Regions from separate parts of the Homo sapiens genome. Here all the other regions are linked to region 3. The links are contacts of gene promoters, found by promoter capture Hi-C in blood cells and fetal thymus (Javierre and others, 2016). All regions are on one chromosome and are shown on one strand. Each heading gives the region's core, a stretch centred on a gene start or on the middle of the fragment in contact. The rest is flanking DNA. Distances are from core to core; before and after follow the strand shown. Region 1 has its middle 4.8 kb from the start of CRISP2. Region 2 overlaps CRISP3 (cysteine rich secretory protein 3). Region 3 holds the start of RHAG (Rh associated glycoprotein).

Region 1 (3,650 bases), core at 734-3,233, 82 kb after region 3:
ACCAAACCAAACCAAACCAAAACAGAGTCGCTTGTGCTAAGACATTAAGGAAACACATAGATCCTAGAAAAGACCAGGTTTTGTTTTTCTCCTGCAAATTTCCATAACAAACATTGCTGAAAGAATAGGTATCCACCCCCTAAAATTCCCATTAAATCTTTAACCCAATTCATTTCCTCTCGCCTAGAGACGATTAAGCTTTAGATGATCATGTGACAAGGGTTCCAGCCAGTTCCAGGTGAAGATGCCTCCCCTGGCCATCAAGGAGCTACCCTTCCTTCACTAGAGAGAGCAAGGCAAGAGGTCTGTGATCCCCACACCAGTCATAAAGCATTTACAGAAGAAAGACCATCGGTTGTTCCACCTCCCATAAAGACTTATGGAGATCACATCTTTCAGGGGGAAATTGAGGCAGGAGAATAGGGCCTAGAGGCAGAGAACGAAAGGACTTTCTAGAACTAAATCAAGGGGAAACACTTCTTCTAGAAACACTGTATTGGTACAGAAAAAATTTCTCAAGTGAGCATGTGTACAACTCCATTAAACACACTGTGCATGAGGCTGCTCCCAAGTGCTAGCAGGCTACTGCACATGCAGATGGCCTAATCCAAGGGAAGAGTAATGCAAGACCCTGGAAGTATGCCAACATATAAAACCCCAAGTCAAAAGGTCAAATTGTTAGAGGAAAGAATGGCTACTCCATAGGCAGAGCAGCCCCAAGGGCTGCTGGTTGCCAATTTTTATGGTTATTCTGATTATATACGAAACAAAGGGTGGATTTTTCATGTCTCCCCTTTGTAGACCATATAGGGTAACTTCGTGACATTGCCATGGCATTTGTAAACTGTCACAACCCTTGTGGAAGTGTAGCAGTGAGGACGACCAGCAGTCACTCTTGTTGCCATCTTGGTTTTGGTAGGTTTTAGCTGACTTGTTTACTGCAAACTGTTTTACAAGAAAGGTCTTTATGACCTGTATTTTGTGCCAAACTCCTATCTTATCCTTTTACTTAGAATGCCTTAACTGTCTGGGAATGCAGCCCAGTAGGTCTCAGCCTCATTTTACCCAGCCCCTATTTAAGATGGAGTTGCTCCGGTTCACATTCCTCTGACATTTCTCCTCTCCCTTTTATAAAAGAACCCTTAATCCTAACAGTTGCAGAAGGATGAAGATTCATCTTCTTTAACTTCTTCAGGCTGAATGGGGCAATGATATTTCTGTGTAACTATTAGGGTCTCTTGTGTTCAGGGTACAGAGGAGTTCAGTCAGAATGCATTAGTATGATGAAGGCCATTCATAACTCTTAAGTTCCAAGAAAAGGTGATATCTGGAAGATTTTTTTAAAAAGTTGAGTAAGTTTATCCTCTATTCCTACACAAAGAGCACAACAGCAAGATATTTTAAAACAGTAAAGCAGAATAAGCAAAATTGTCCTAAGTTAACTAAATTAGAAGGCTTTCCATGAATTGGGCAACTATTGAAACCAAGCTGATATGGGGTCACTAGCTGATTCCAGTGTGCCCAGAATTGGAATATTGATTCATATTTTTACATTACCCATTCCTTTATTTTCTTCTGAGCAGCAGCCAGAGATTGCTGGTTGGTTCACAGGAATAAGCAGGGTTAGTCTAAATTGCAGAAAAAAACTCAAAACAACTGATGAGACTAGAATCTAAGAGCAAGTACACCATAGTTCTTGAAACATAATTCTCTCTCCAGTTTCCCATTTTTACAAAGGACAAATAATGGTAAAACTGACTTGCTTTACTATGCTTGGCTGGATTCTTTGTATAAAGTATAGCAAGAATAATTATTTTTCATGTAAGCTTTTTAAAAATTGGCTTTGATGGAACTCTGTTTCATAAAAGGAATCTCAGATAAGGTTTTTTTAAAGCCAAGCCCAGCCATGGGTTTTTTACCCTCAAATACCTAACAGTTGGCTAAATTCCTCTACTCTTGAGGTTTCAGGACAATTTGGGGCTTTTAGGTCTGTCAGAAAGTGACATTCTTTACTTACCAAAGGTGAAGAACCCTGTAGAGGGACTGTGTAGACAAGGTATGAGGCCAGTTTTCTGAAGGGGCCTTTATTGGCTTTACTAGTCAAGTTTGATTCCTTAAAGGAAAGCACAGCCTTCCAGTCAAAGCTTTGATAAAATAAACAATTTCTCCAATTGTGTCCTGTTGCAAAAGAAAACCGATTCTTATTGCACTTATGCAAATAACTACATTGCCATAAATTAAGAATACCCACAAACCATTTTCAAATTCTGGATAAATCAGTAGAGAGAAACAAATGTGCTCCTGATTTTGTTTATAGAAGAATACTTTACCTAATTGTTAAAAGCTGTAAATAGCTTAAAATAAAATTTTCTAGACCCTGAAAAACAAAACAAAGGATTAGCAACATTTTAAGCACAGTCAAAAAGATTATTTTTTTAGTTTAGTCCATGCAGTTAACTCCTGTTCTGAAAAATAGTCATAAATATTTCAGCTCTTCATCAGAATCCTGAAAGTGTTTTCCTCTATTCTAATGTCACAATTTCCAAAGATATCAGGAAACCTGCATTTAGCACCTGTGAAAGTCCTATAGTTGATCATAAAACCACCTTTTTAAGAGGGTTAAAACAAGGCAATAATTGTCTGTGGATGACAAAATGTTTTAGGGCAGCCACAGTCAAAAACATGATTGACAAAGAAATTAGGTTACCTTTGTGGTATACAATGATTTTATGTAACAATTATTAATAATATACACTAAGTCATATCAAAATTATAGGAGATTTTTATAATTTTGGAACACATACCAGTAATATACTAATACAAATACAGCCCAAAGAAGGCCAAACACCATTTCATATTTGACAATGCTTCCTGTATGACTTTTATATCAAATAAACCAAATTTCACTTCTGCATTAGTGTACTATTAATGTTAAATCCAATTTTTAATAAAACCTTATAGACAAATCTATCCAATTTTAATGTCTGACCATAAGGTAATATTCTCTTAAATCTTTTATAACTCTTTATAAATTTTTGTTAAATGGTAGATCAGTGCTCTCAGAAAAACCTGTTGTGCTTTTATTCCAATGTTTAATTTTTAGAAAAACTGAAATAATACTGCTTTAACTTTAGTCAATATGTTCACACCCAGAATTTCTTTTACAATTAATTTTTCACAAACCTTTCACAACTTGCTTAAAGCTTCAGCTTCATCTGAACTCAAACAATCCTTTACCCTTTAGGCAAAAAACAAGTCACATTCCCATGACTTCTTATAATTTATTTTAAACTGAAAACACATTTTACTTTCTTTGTACACCTTTCATGTAAAACTTTTTCTTCAGTAGTCTCAATTACATGTTATAATGTTAACTCTTATCAACGTTTACTTATGGTGAAAACCTTGGTAAGTTAGGATTTTAATTGTTTACTAAATGTAGAGCCTAGGATCCAGATAGAAGTGCAGATAAGGTCTGACTTTTTCCAATGTCTAACTCCACATGTCTCAGGCTTTACCTAGCTGTAAAGTAGGCAAGTTGTACAGTTAAGAGTCATAGTGGCATTTTATGAAGCATTTAAGAGGACTAGCCACCTTTAAATTGCACATTTCTTTCATAAATTCTATTTTATAAATTCTTTCATGACTTA
Region 2 (3,583 bases), core at 916-3,415, 100 kb after region 3:
TTTTATATTTATTGATGTATAGGTTATGTCTTGCAGGTCATTTTTTTAGTTTAATATAGTATGCATTGTAAACATCCAGAAAATATAAAAGACATGGCTTACTGTCATCAAAAATTCAAAAGAAAATAATAAAAGTTAATGCTAATGTTAAATACGTTTTTCATAAAATTCAGGAACAGTTTGACAAAATTTAAAATATTTTATAGAAAAAAAATTAAGTAGGTTTCAAAACACAAATAGGCTGCATATTGTCACTAAAAAGGGTACTGATTTAGAAGCCAGAAATTCTAATTCCAAATTTCCTATATATGACATTAATTGCCAATCATCATTTTCTTCCAGGCTGTTGATTTTCTAATCTCTGTAATTGGGAAAGAGATGATCTGTAACCTGCTTTACTCCTGAGCTGATTGAGAGGTAAAAATATGATACTGTGTGAGACGGTTTTTGTAAAATTTATTTAAAACAGTAAGCACAGATGGTGCTTCTCAGAGTTATCTCTACATGTAGATAGTCCATATTGAAAAAGGTAGCATTAGAAGCAATATTTATTTACAAACTTTTCTTAATGCAACATCATAACATGGTTTATTATTTTACTTGTTGATTTATTCAACAAATATTTCCTAATTTACATACTTGTCATTCGATCCTTTGGGTTACTGTGTCTGTAATTGCACTGGTTTGCCCACTTTTGGGCATTTGCTGCAGCCTCTTTGTTCCATTCCTGAAACAAGGACAGAAAAAAGATATCCACTTAATGTCTCAAACCTCAAAGGAGCATAAGCTTTATAATCAGGTTATAGGTTGATTTACATCATCATAAAATTTCTGTACAAGCATCTTCTGATTTTTATAGTAATCAAATGTATATATTTTTTATGTGCTTTTATCTGCTCCACAAAGAAATATAGGTAATATGCCTACCCTAAGTAATCAAAAAATCTAGGTTTATGGTCCAATTATTTATCACAGGACATCAGAAACACCTAAAGATTTTTTGTAATGGTCCTGTTCTAAATATTGATAAACATGTGGAGGTGCTGAGATTGCTTTTCCAACAATGAAGTAATTAGCTGGCTTACTTCATTTCCAGTTCTTTTTTTCTTTTTTTCCCCCTCACTGAATATGTTCGGGAGACATGTGGCCTTTGGTACAGGGCCCAGAAAAGTAGATTGTTATTTACCCTACATGGCATTTATCTTAAAAGGAAAAGGTCTTTCTGATCTCAGATTAGGACAGATAAGATAAGGAGCAGAAAAACATAATGGCTTTTCACCGTATGTCCAAAGATTAGGTTTTAATTCTGCCTCCATAATTTAAATAGCCCTATGAATTTGACGTTATGCAACCATTATAAAGAGAAGTTAAGAAATTCAGCTCTGCCCATTACACAGCTCAAATGAAACAAAAAAATACAGAGAGAACTTTGTAAACTTCAAAGTTATTAAGAGATATTAGTTGCCAGCCGCCTACTCCTTCCACAGCTTGTTCACACCCCTCTCCTTTGCAATATCACCTCTTACCATCTTCAGCATGTTTCTGGCAGGGGGAGATACTGCTCTCCTCAGTTCATTGTGCTTATTCACAATCTCCCTTTGCACTTGTGTTTGGGTGGTTAACAAAGCAGTAAAAGCGGGATCCTAAGGGAAAATAAAATTACAATTATCTTTTAACATTGTTGGAAATTGCACATAATAGTAACTATGTTAGTTCAAGGGAACAAAGACCATTTTTAAAAAGTGTTGCCAATGCTAGGTAAACATTGTCAATGACTGCCAAAGCTATGACTTTTTAATGGAAAAGTATTAGATGAAAGTTTTCAGAATGGGGATATAATTCATGGCATGACAAACTAAAATCTCCTCTGAGGCCACAAATACCAATTTCTGGGTTAAGAGAGGTCTTAATGTGATTTTTCTAAATATATGAGTGATAACATCTTATAGTGACAAGGGTACATGATAGTAATTATTAAGACATTCACACTCAGGCTGCAGCAAAGAAGTTGTAAAGATTGAGGCATATGATTTACCCTAAGACTCTAGGGGGAATTTCTGCCTGAAATGGTGTCTGGTATTTAGAAAAAATGCTTAGGCTCAGCCTAAGTGCATGTGTAACATGCAATACTCTAGTAAAAGAGTTTTATGTATTACGTAGCAAATATTATGGGATCACTCAAAAGATAGTTTTACCACATTAAAAAAAATCTCCAAGGCAATTTGCGGGGTGGAGCAAAGTCATTTAATTAATGAACTTCAATACCCTCATGTGGCTAGGGGCTACCATATTGATCACCACAGCTTTAAACATAATTATGTTAACTACCTTGAGCTACTAATGAGTACTTTATGATGTACCAGACACTCTAGACCTTTTCACTTTTGAAGATTGATCTAGTAGCTTGCCATCCCTCATGGTTGCCTGAATTTTTCTGAAGATTTTTGACTTCAACCATACCTTATCTTCATTTGCTGGAAAAGATGGAAGCAGCCCAGCAACCAGGAACAACAGCACTGGGAATAATGTCATTGCTGGGAAAACAAAACCGGTGGAACAGGGATCTGCATTAAAATGATTGGTACATGCTGTTGAGTAACATGGGGGTGGGAGAAACGTAATGACCTCCATTATCCCAAATTCATTATTAATGTAACAGGAGAAGACTTGTCACATGGAGCCAGCAGAATGACAGTGGATTCAGCTTTCAAAGTATGCATTCAACTGGGACTATAAAGAACAAACCAAAATTCCCGACTGAAGCCCTTGAAGCATGCCTATAAATGCTAAGGACTTTCTACCTCCTTCTTCCGCAGCTCCGCAGTCTTCTCTGTGTAACTACTGTCTTTAGGTTGTAGGAGTGGATTCTTCACAATAACAATTCAGTAGCTTCCAACTGTGTTTATTACTGGGATACTACTGCATTAGCCCTTGCTGATTTCCTTAAGTGCTGTCTACACTTTTATAAATATAACCTTATTAACATTTCTTCAAATTAAAAGTTAGCATGTGCCAGTTCTTTTCCGTCAGGGATCTGGCTCATATACTTGCCATTCTTCAAACCCTAGAAAGTCCTCTACGTATATGCTTTTTATGCATACCTTTAAACTACTCTCTTCAAGTTTACCCATGCAGCCAGCATCCTAACTCCTTTCCTCTCAAAACTTTCTTTAATACCATGCCTCAAATTTAAAAAGGCAACATTTTTTTCCTCTGGATCTTAAAACAAAAAGGTAATAATTTGATTCTCATGTTTAAGGGATTACTCACCCTATCTGTATTAATATCCTTAATATGTTCACATTCTTTATCTCACTAATTCAACTTCTTAGAATTCTACTGAAATTATAAACTATACTAAAAAGTTTTAAGCATAAAATTTTCATCATGTTATCATTTATAAGGGTTAAAACATTGTAAATTAATTACATGCCTAGCAATAGGGAGATATAATGTCTAAGTAAATGAGAATACATCCTCTTATGGCAGTATATTAGACATAAAAACCACTATACATTTATGGTTGTTTTGTAACCTCAGAGAAGAAGCTTATGCTTCAGTGTTAAGTTTAAAAACAAGAAAG
Region 3 (3,695 bases), core at 247-2,746:
GTATTGCATCTCTTTGTTTACAAGTGTATCAGATAGTGGAGTCTTAGAATAAAAGAATCATATTTGTTTTATTTTTTAATAAATTTGCTGTAGCACATGCTTAGTGCTTAATAAAATATGTACTAAATGAATAAATGGATGAATGAATGAAATGTACAAAAGCATACATAGATGAACAGAATTTTTTCTGTTTTATTCTCTAACTTGCAAACTATAAAACTTATTTAATCAAGAACCCTCTCAGACATCTATGCAGTGTAAAGACAGCTAGACTTGGAGTCTAGTTTTCTCTGTCTTATTACCCTAACTCTGTCCTTAGCTTTCAATTTTATATTTTTCCTATGTCACTTAGCAACTCTAGGCCATTATTTCTACATGGGAATACCCCCATCATATTAATTCCCTCAAAAAATGTTGGAATAAAAAAAAGGGTGTCAAATTGTTTTTTAAAAAGCTTAGACATATGCTATGAAGTATAATAAACATTATACCATTTTAAATAATTTTTAAATTTTTTAGATTATTTGAACCTTACTTAAGAAAAGCAAATAGTCTATATAATAGTGACATACTACTGTCTTCCTTCCTGGCTAATGAGGTAATGGATGTGTTGGTTTATAATAAGGACGCAGTAAATGGTAGTTATTGTTATATTAACTATTTTACAGCCTACCCTTCCAAACTTGAATTAAATTTCTCTCTTTGCTCAATCATCATTCCCAAGGAAGGATTTTGTTTTTAAAATATGTTAAGTATTCACACATTTCTTTTCATCTCAAAGTAACAAACCGACTTCCTTTCAGAATATTGTAAAACTCTGAGTACACTTTTTTGATTAAAACTCCATTAACTTCCTACATCATACTAAATACCCCTTCTTATTCCTTAGGGTCCTCACATGAAATCTAGGGTTCCCTTCTTATAACTCCATTCTTAGAACTCTCTCTCCTCCAAAGTTACCTTTGGCCCTTTCAGTGGGGAATGCAAAGGAAGCGTGATACTTTTCTTTGCAGAACTAGTGACCAACTGAAGGAAAAAGGTCATTTAGCAGTAGATAAGCAATACAAAAGGCATCAATTATTTTAATTTTCAGCTTCTTGTTCTGATATTTTAATAGGAAAAAGTTCCAACCAAGCACCTTAATCACAGAGAAGAAGACCAGATGTCACATCACAAACATGTAATATCCTTAGCACTCATAACCATCATATAATTCTACAAAGAGCTCAAGGGTTTATAGTATTCAATTGTTTTACATTCTGAGAAACCGAAGAACCGAAAAATGTATAGTAAGTAGTAAATTGCCTACTCACGAGGATATAACTCAAAGAATATGCCCATGTCTGTTGGCTTGGTGATGTTGAGCTGCTCGAGAACAGTCTGGTCCGTTTCATACTCAACAAATAATCCAAATAAAACAATCATGGCAATTTCCAGGACTATAGCCATGAGAGGGAATGTGAACCTCATGTTTGTGGCAAAGGACAGAGGCACACTGAGAGCTTCACAGGCTGTGAGATGTTGATAAGAACAAAGGACTGCTCTGTGTGTGGAATTTGACTGCATGTTCAAGGCACCCCAATGACATCACAAGAAAAAAAAAATGGGCAAGACTGATTAAAATGCCCCACCCATTGGGGAAAATTATGCTCTGTAATCTAATTGTCGTTCTAAATGTTGATCTGAAGAATATGCAATGAAATTGTGAGAACCTGGATGATGCCAACAATCTATTGCACAGGCCTCTAGAATCATGTTTAACTTAATTCAGTAGACATTTCTTGAGGGCTTATTGTATACCAAATATTGTGGTAGGCTTTGTAGAAGGCATGAATCTAAAGCAATATATATAATTGGTCTGTTAACTTCTTGAGAAAATTAAGAATCTAGTTGGGAAAACATAAATATAAGTGAATGATTATATAAAAACAAATATGTGATATAATAGTGGTTATAAAAGTATTATAAAACATAAATAAGGCAGTGAAACTTTTTGCCTTAGGCCAAGAACATTAGCATATAAAACAATATGGATGTGAGAACTAGAACATAAATAGGGTTTTTCAAGTAAAACAGATAAGAGGGAATGATATAAATCTTGGAAGAACATGGCATGTTTTGGAAACGGCAATCAGTCAAGCAAAGCTGGAATGTAAAAGAGATGAAGAGAAAAGGAGGAAGTGGCAGAGATAATGTTGTCATGGAGGTGGCTGTGTTGTAAAGACCCTCACATTCAGTACCGAGGATGCTAGATGCTAAATATTATCCCATGAGCAATGGGGAATATATAGGACTGTAAGCAGTTTTATGTACTTATGAAGTTTTTGACTCCTTACTCTGATTTACGCAAGTGAAAATATGGAAATACACAAATGAGTTGTGATATATCTTTTAGTCTTAAATAGGAAGAGAGTAAACTTAAACAGGAACATAACTAATCTATCATCCTTATAGATAGTCAAGTGTAAATAAGATGCTAAGCAATTCAAAACTACCATATAGGTGGAGGAATTCTTGTCTCCTCTTTGGAATTGTTCTCATGGCAGAATAAACCTGTTTTTGAGAACTAAGAGCTACCAGTTAAATACAATTTCTTTCATGAAGCCCAATTTCCAAAAGATTCTATGCAGAATTTGGAGAGAGAGTGCAACTGACTGCCAGGATACATACATTGTAATAAATATTTATAAAACAAAGCAGCAGGATTTTTTGGTCTTTCTGGTATGATTTTCCACAGTAGAACATGATATGTTAGGACTAAGTGATATTTGAAATTTTATAAATATACAGACACTTTGAAAAATGACTATTTCCATTATTCGTTACAGCATAGTACAAGAGGAGTGGGTTCACATGCTTAGCTATGAAAATACATGTGTACATCTCACACTTTAATTTTTGGTTTTGCAGCAGCCTAAAGAGTGTTCATGAGAACTCCAACAAATCCTAAATGAAAAGTGTATATGTTAATAAACTATGCATAAACTTGTGAAAACCAAGTATCAAATAATAAATTGCAAGAACATCTAAACAATATCATAAACCAATGCGGTTTTAAACTCTTTAATAAAAAGTGACACAGTATATTAAACAATCCAAGACCGATGGCATCTCTCTTTCTCTGGGACATTTCCAGCAGCTCAGCAACCACTCAACACATGGGGAGTAGAGGATTTTACTCATATAGGTGATGGGACTATGCCAGCACTTGACTTCAGCCTGTTCAACTTCGAGGAATTCAGATTTTTTGCCTTATTCTGAATGTAGACATTTGTATTGAAATAAGCTGCATTGTCTACCATCTGGGAAATTATTTCTCTTGTTCAGTTCTTCACATAAGCTTCTCTTTGTAACTGGAAATCTTCCCACATATTCTCTGCTCCCTGTCCTATATACATCATCCATCATTCTTCAGTTTTCAGATAAAATGATACTTCCTCAGAAAAGCCTTCATTGATCTCCCATCTTGAACCAGGTTTCCACTATTATCTCTCATTGAATTGTGGTCTTTTCTTTGCAATTAGTACAGTTGGCTGTGTGTGCTGTATTTATGTAGTGTTTGTATTTATATGTAATTTTTAAGAATGGCCGTTTCCCTTACTGGCCTGTTAGCTCCAGGACAGGGGCTGTGTCTCTTTTGCACCTCATTTGTTATCTAGAATGAATAATACCATGTCTAGCACAATATATAATTG

The links. Contacts are between HindIII fragments. The CHiCAGO score rates a contact against its expected background, and 5 or more counts as called.
Region 1: a fragment that was not itself captured here is called in contact with the fragment with the promoter of RHAG in region 3 in 1 of 17 cell types (erythroblasts); the score reaches 5.5 in erythroblasts.
Region 2: a contact is called between a fragment that was not itself captured here and the fragment with the promoter of RHAG in region 3, in 2 of 17 cell types (erythroblasts and megakaryocytes). The highest score is 33.4, in erythroblasts.

What each region holds. Positions count from the first base shown.
Region 1 is chr6:49,716,502-49,720,151 of GRCh38, forward strand. No RefSeq gene overlaps it. Among named protein-coding and RNA genes, the nearest start is that of CRISP2, 4.8 kb to the left of the region's middle. RefSeq lists a silencer at 3,561-3,650. The HindIII fragment of the contact is 318 bases long and covers 1,825-2,142 here.
Region 2 is chr6:49,734,865-49,738,447 of GRCh38, forward strand. CRISP3 (cysteine rich secretory protein 3) reads right to left here. Exons shown (of 8, transcript NM_006061.4): 2 at 2,461-2,534; 3 at 1,527-1,643; 4 at 640-727. Among named protein-coding and RNA genes, the nearest start is that of CRISP3, 7.7 kb to the right of the region's middle. The HindIII fragment of the contact is 2,761 bases long and covers 786-3,546 here.
Region 3 is chr6:49,635,343-49,639,037 of GRCh38, forward strand. It overlaps RHAG (Rh associated glycoprotein), which reads right to left and starts at 1,497. Exons shown (of 10, transcript NM_000324.3): 1 at 1,314-1,497. The coding sequence starts at 1,470. The HindIII fragment of the contact is 2,886 bases long and covers 453-3,338 here.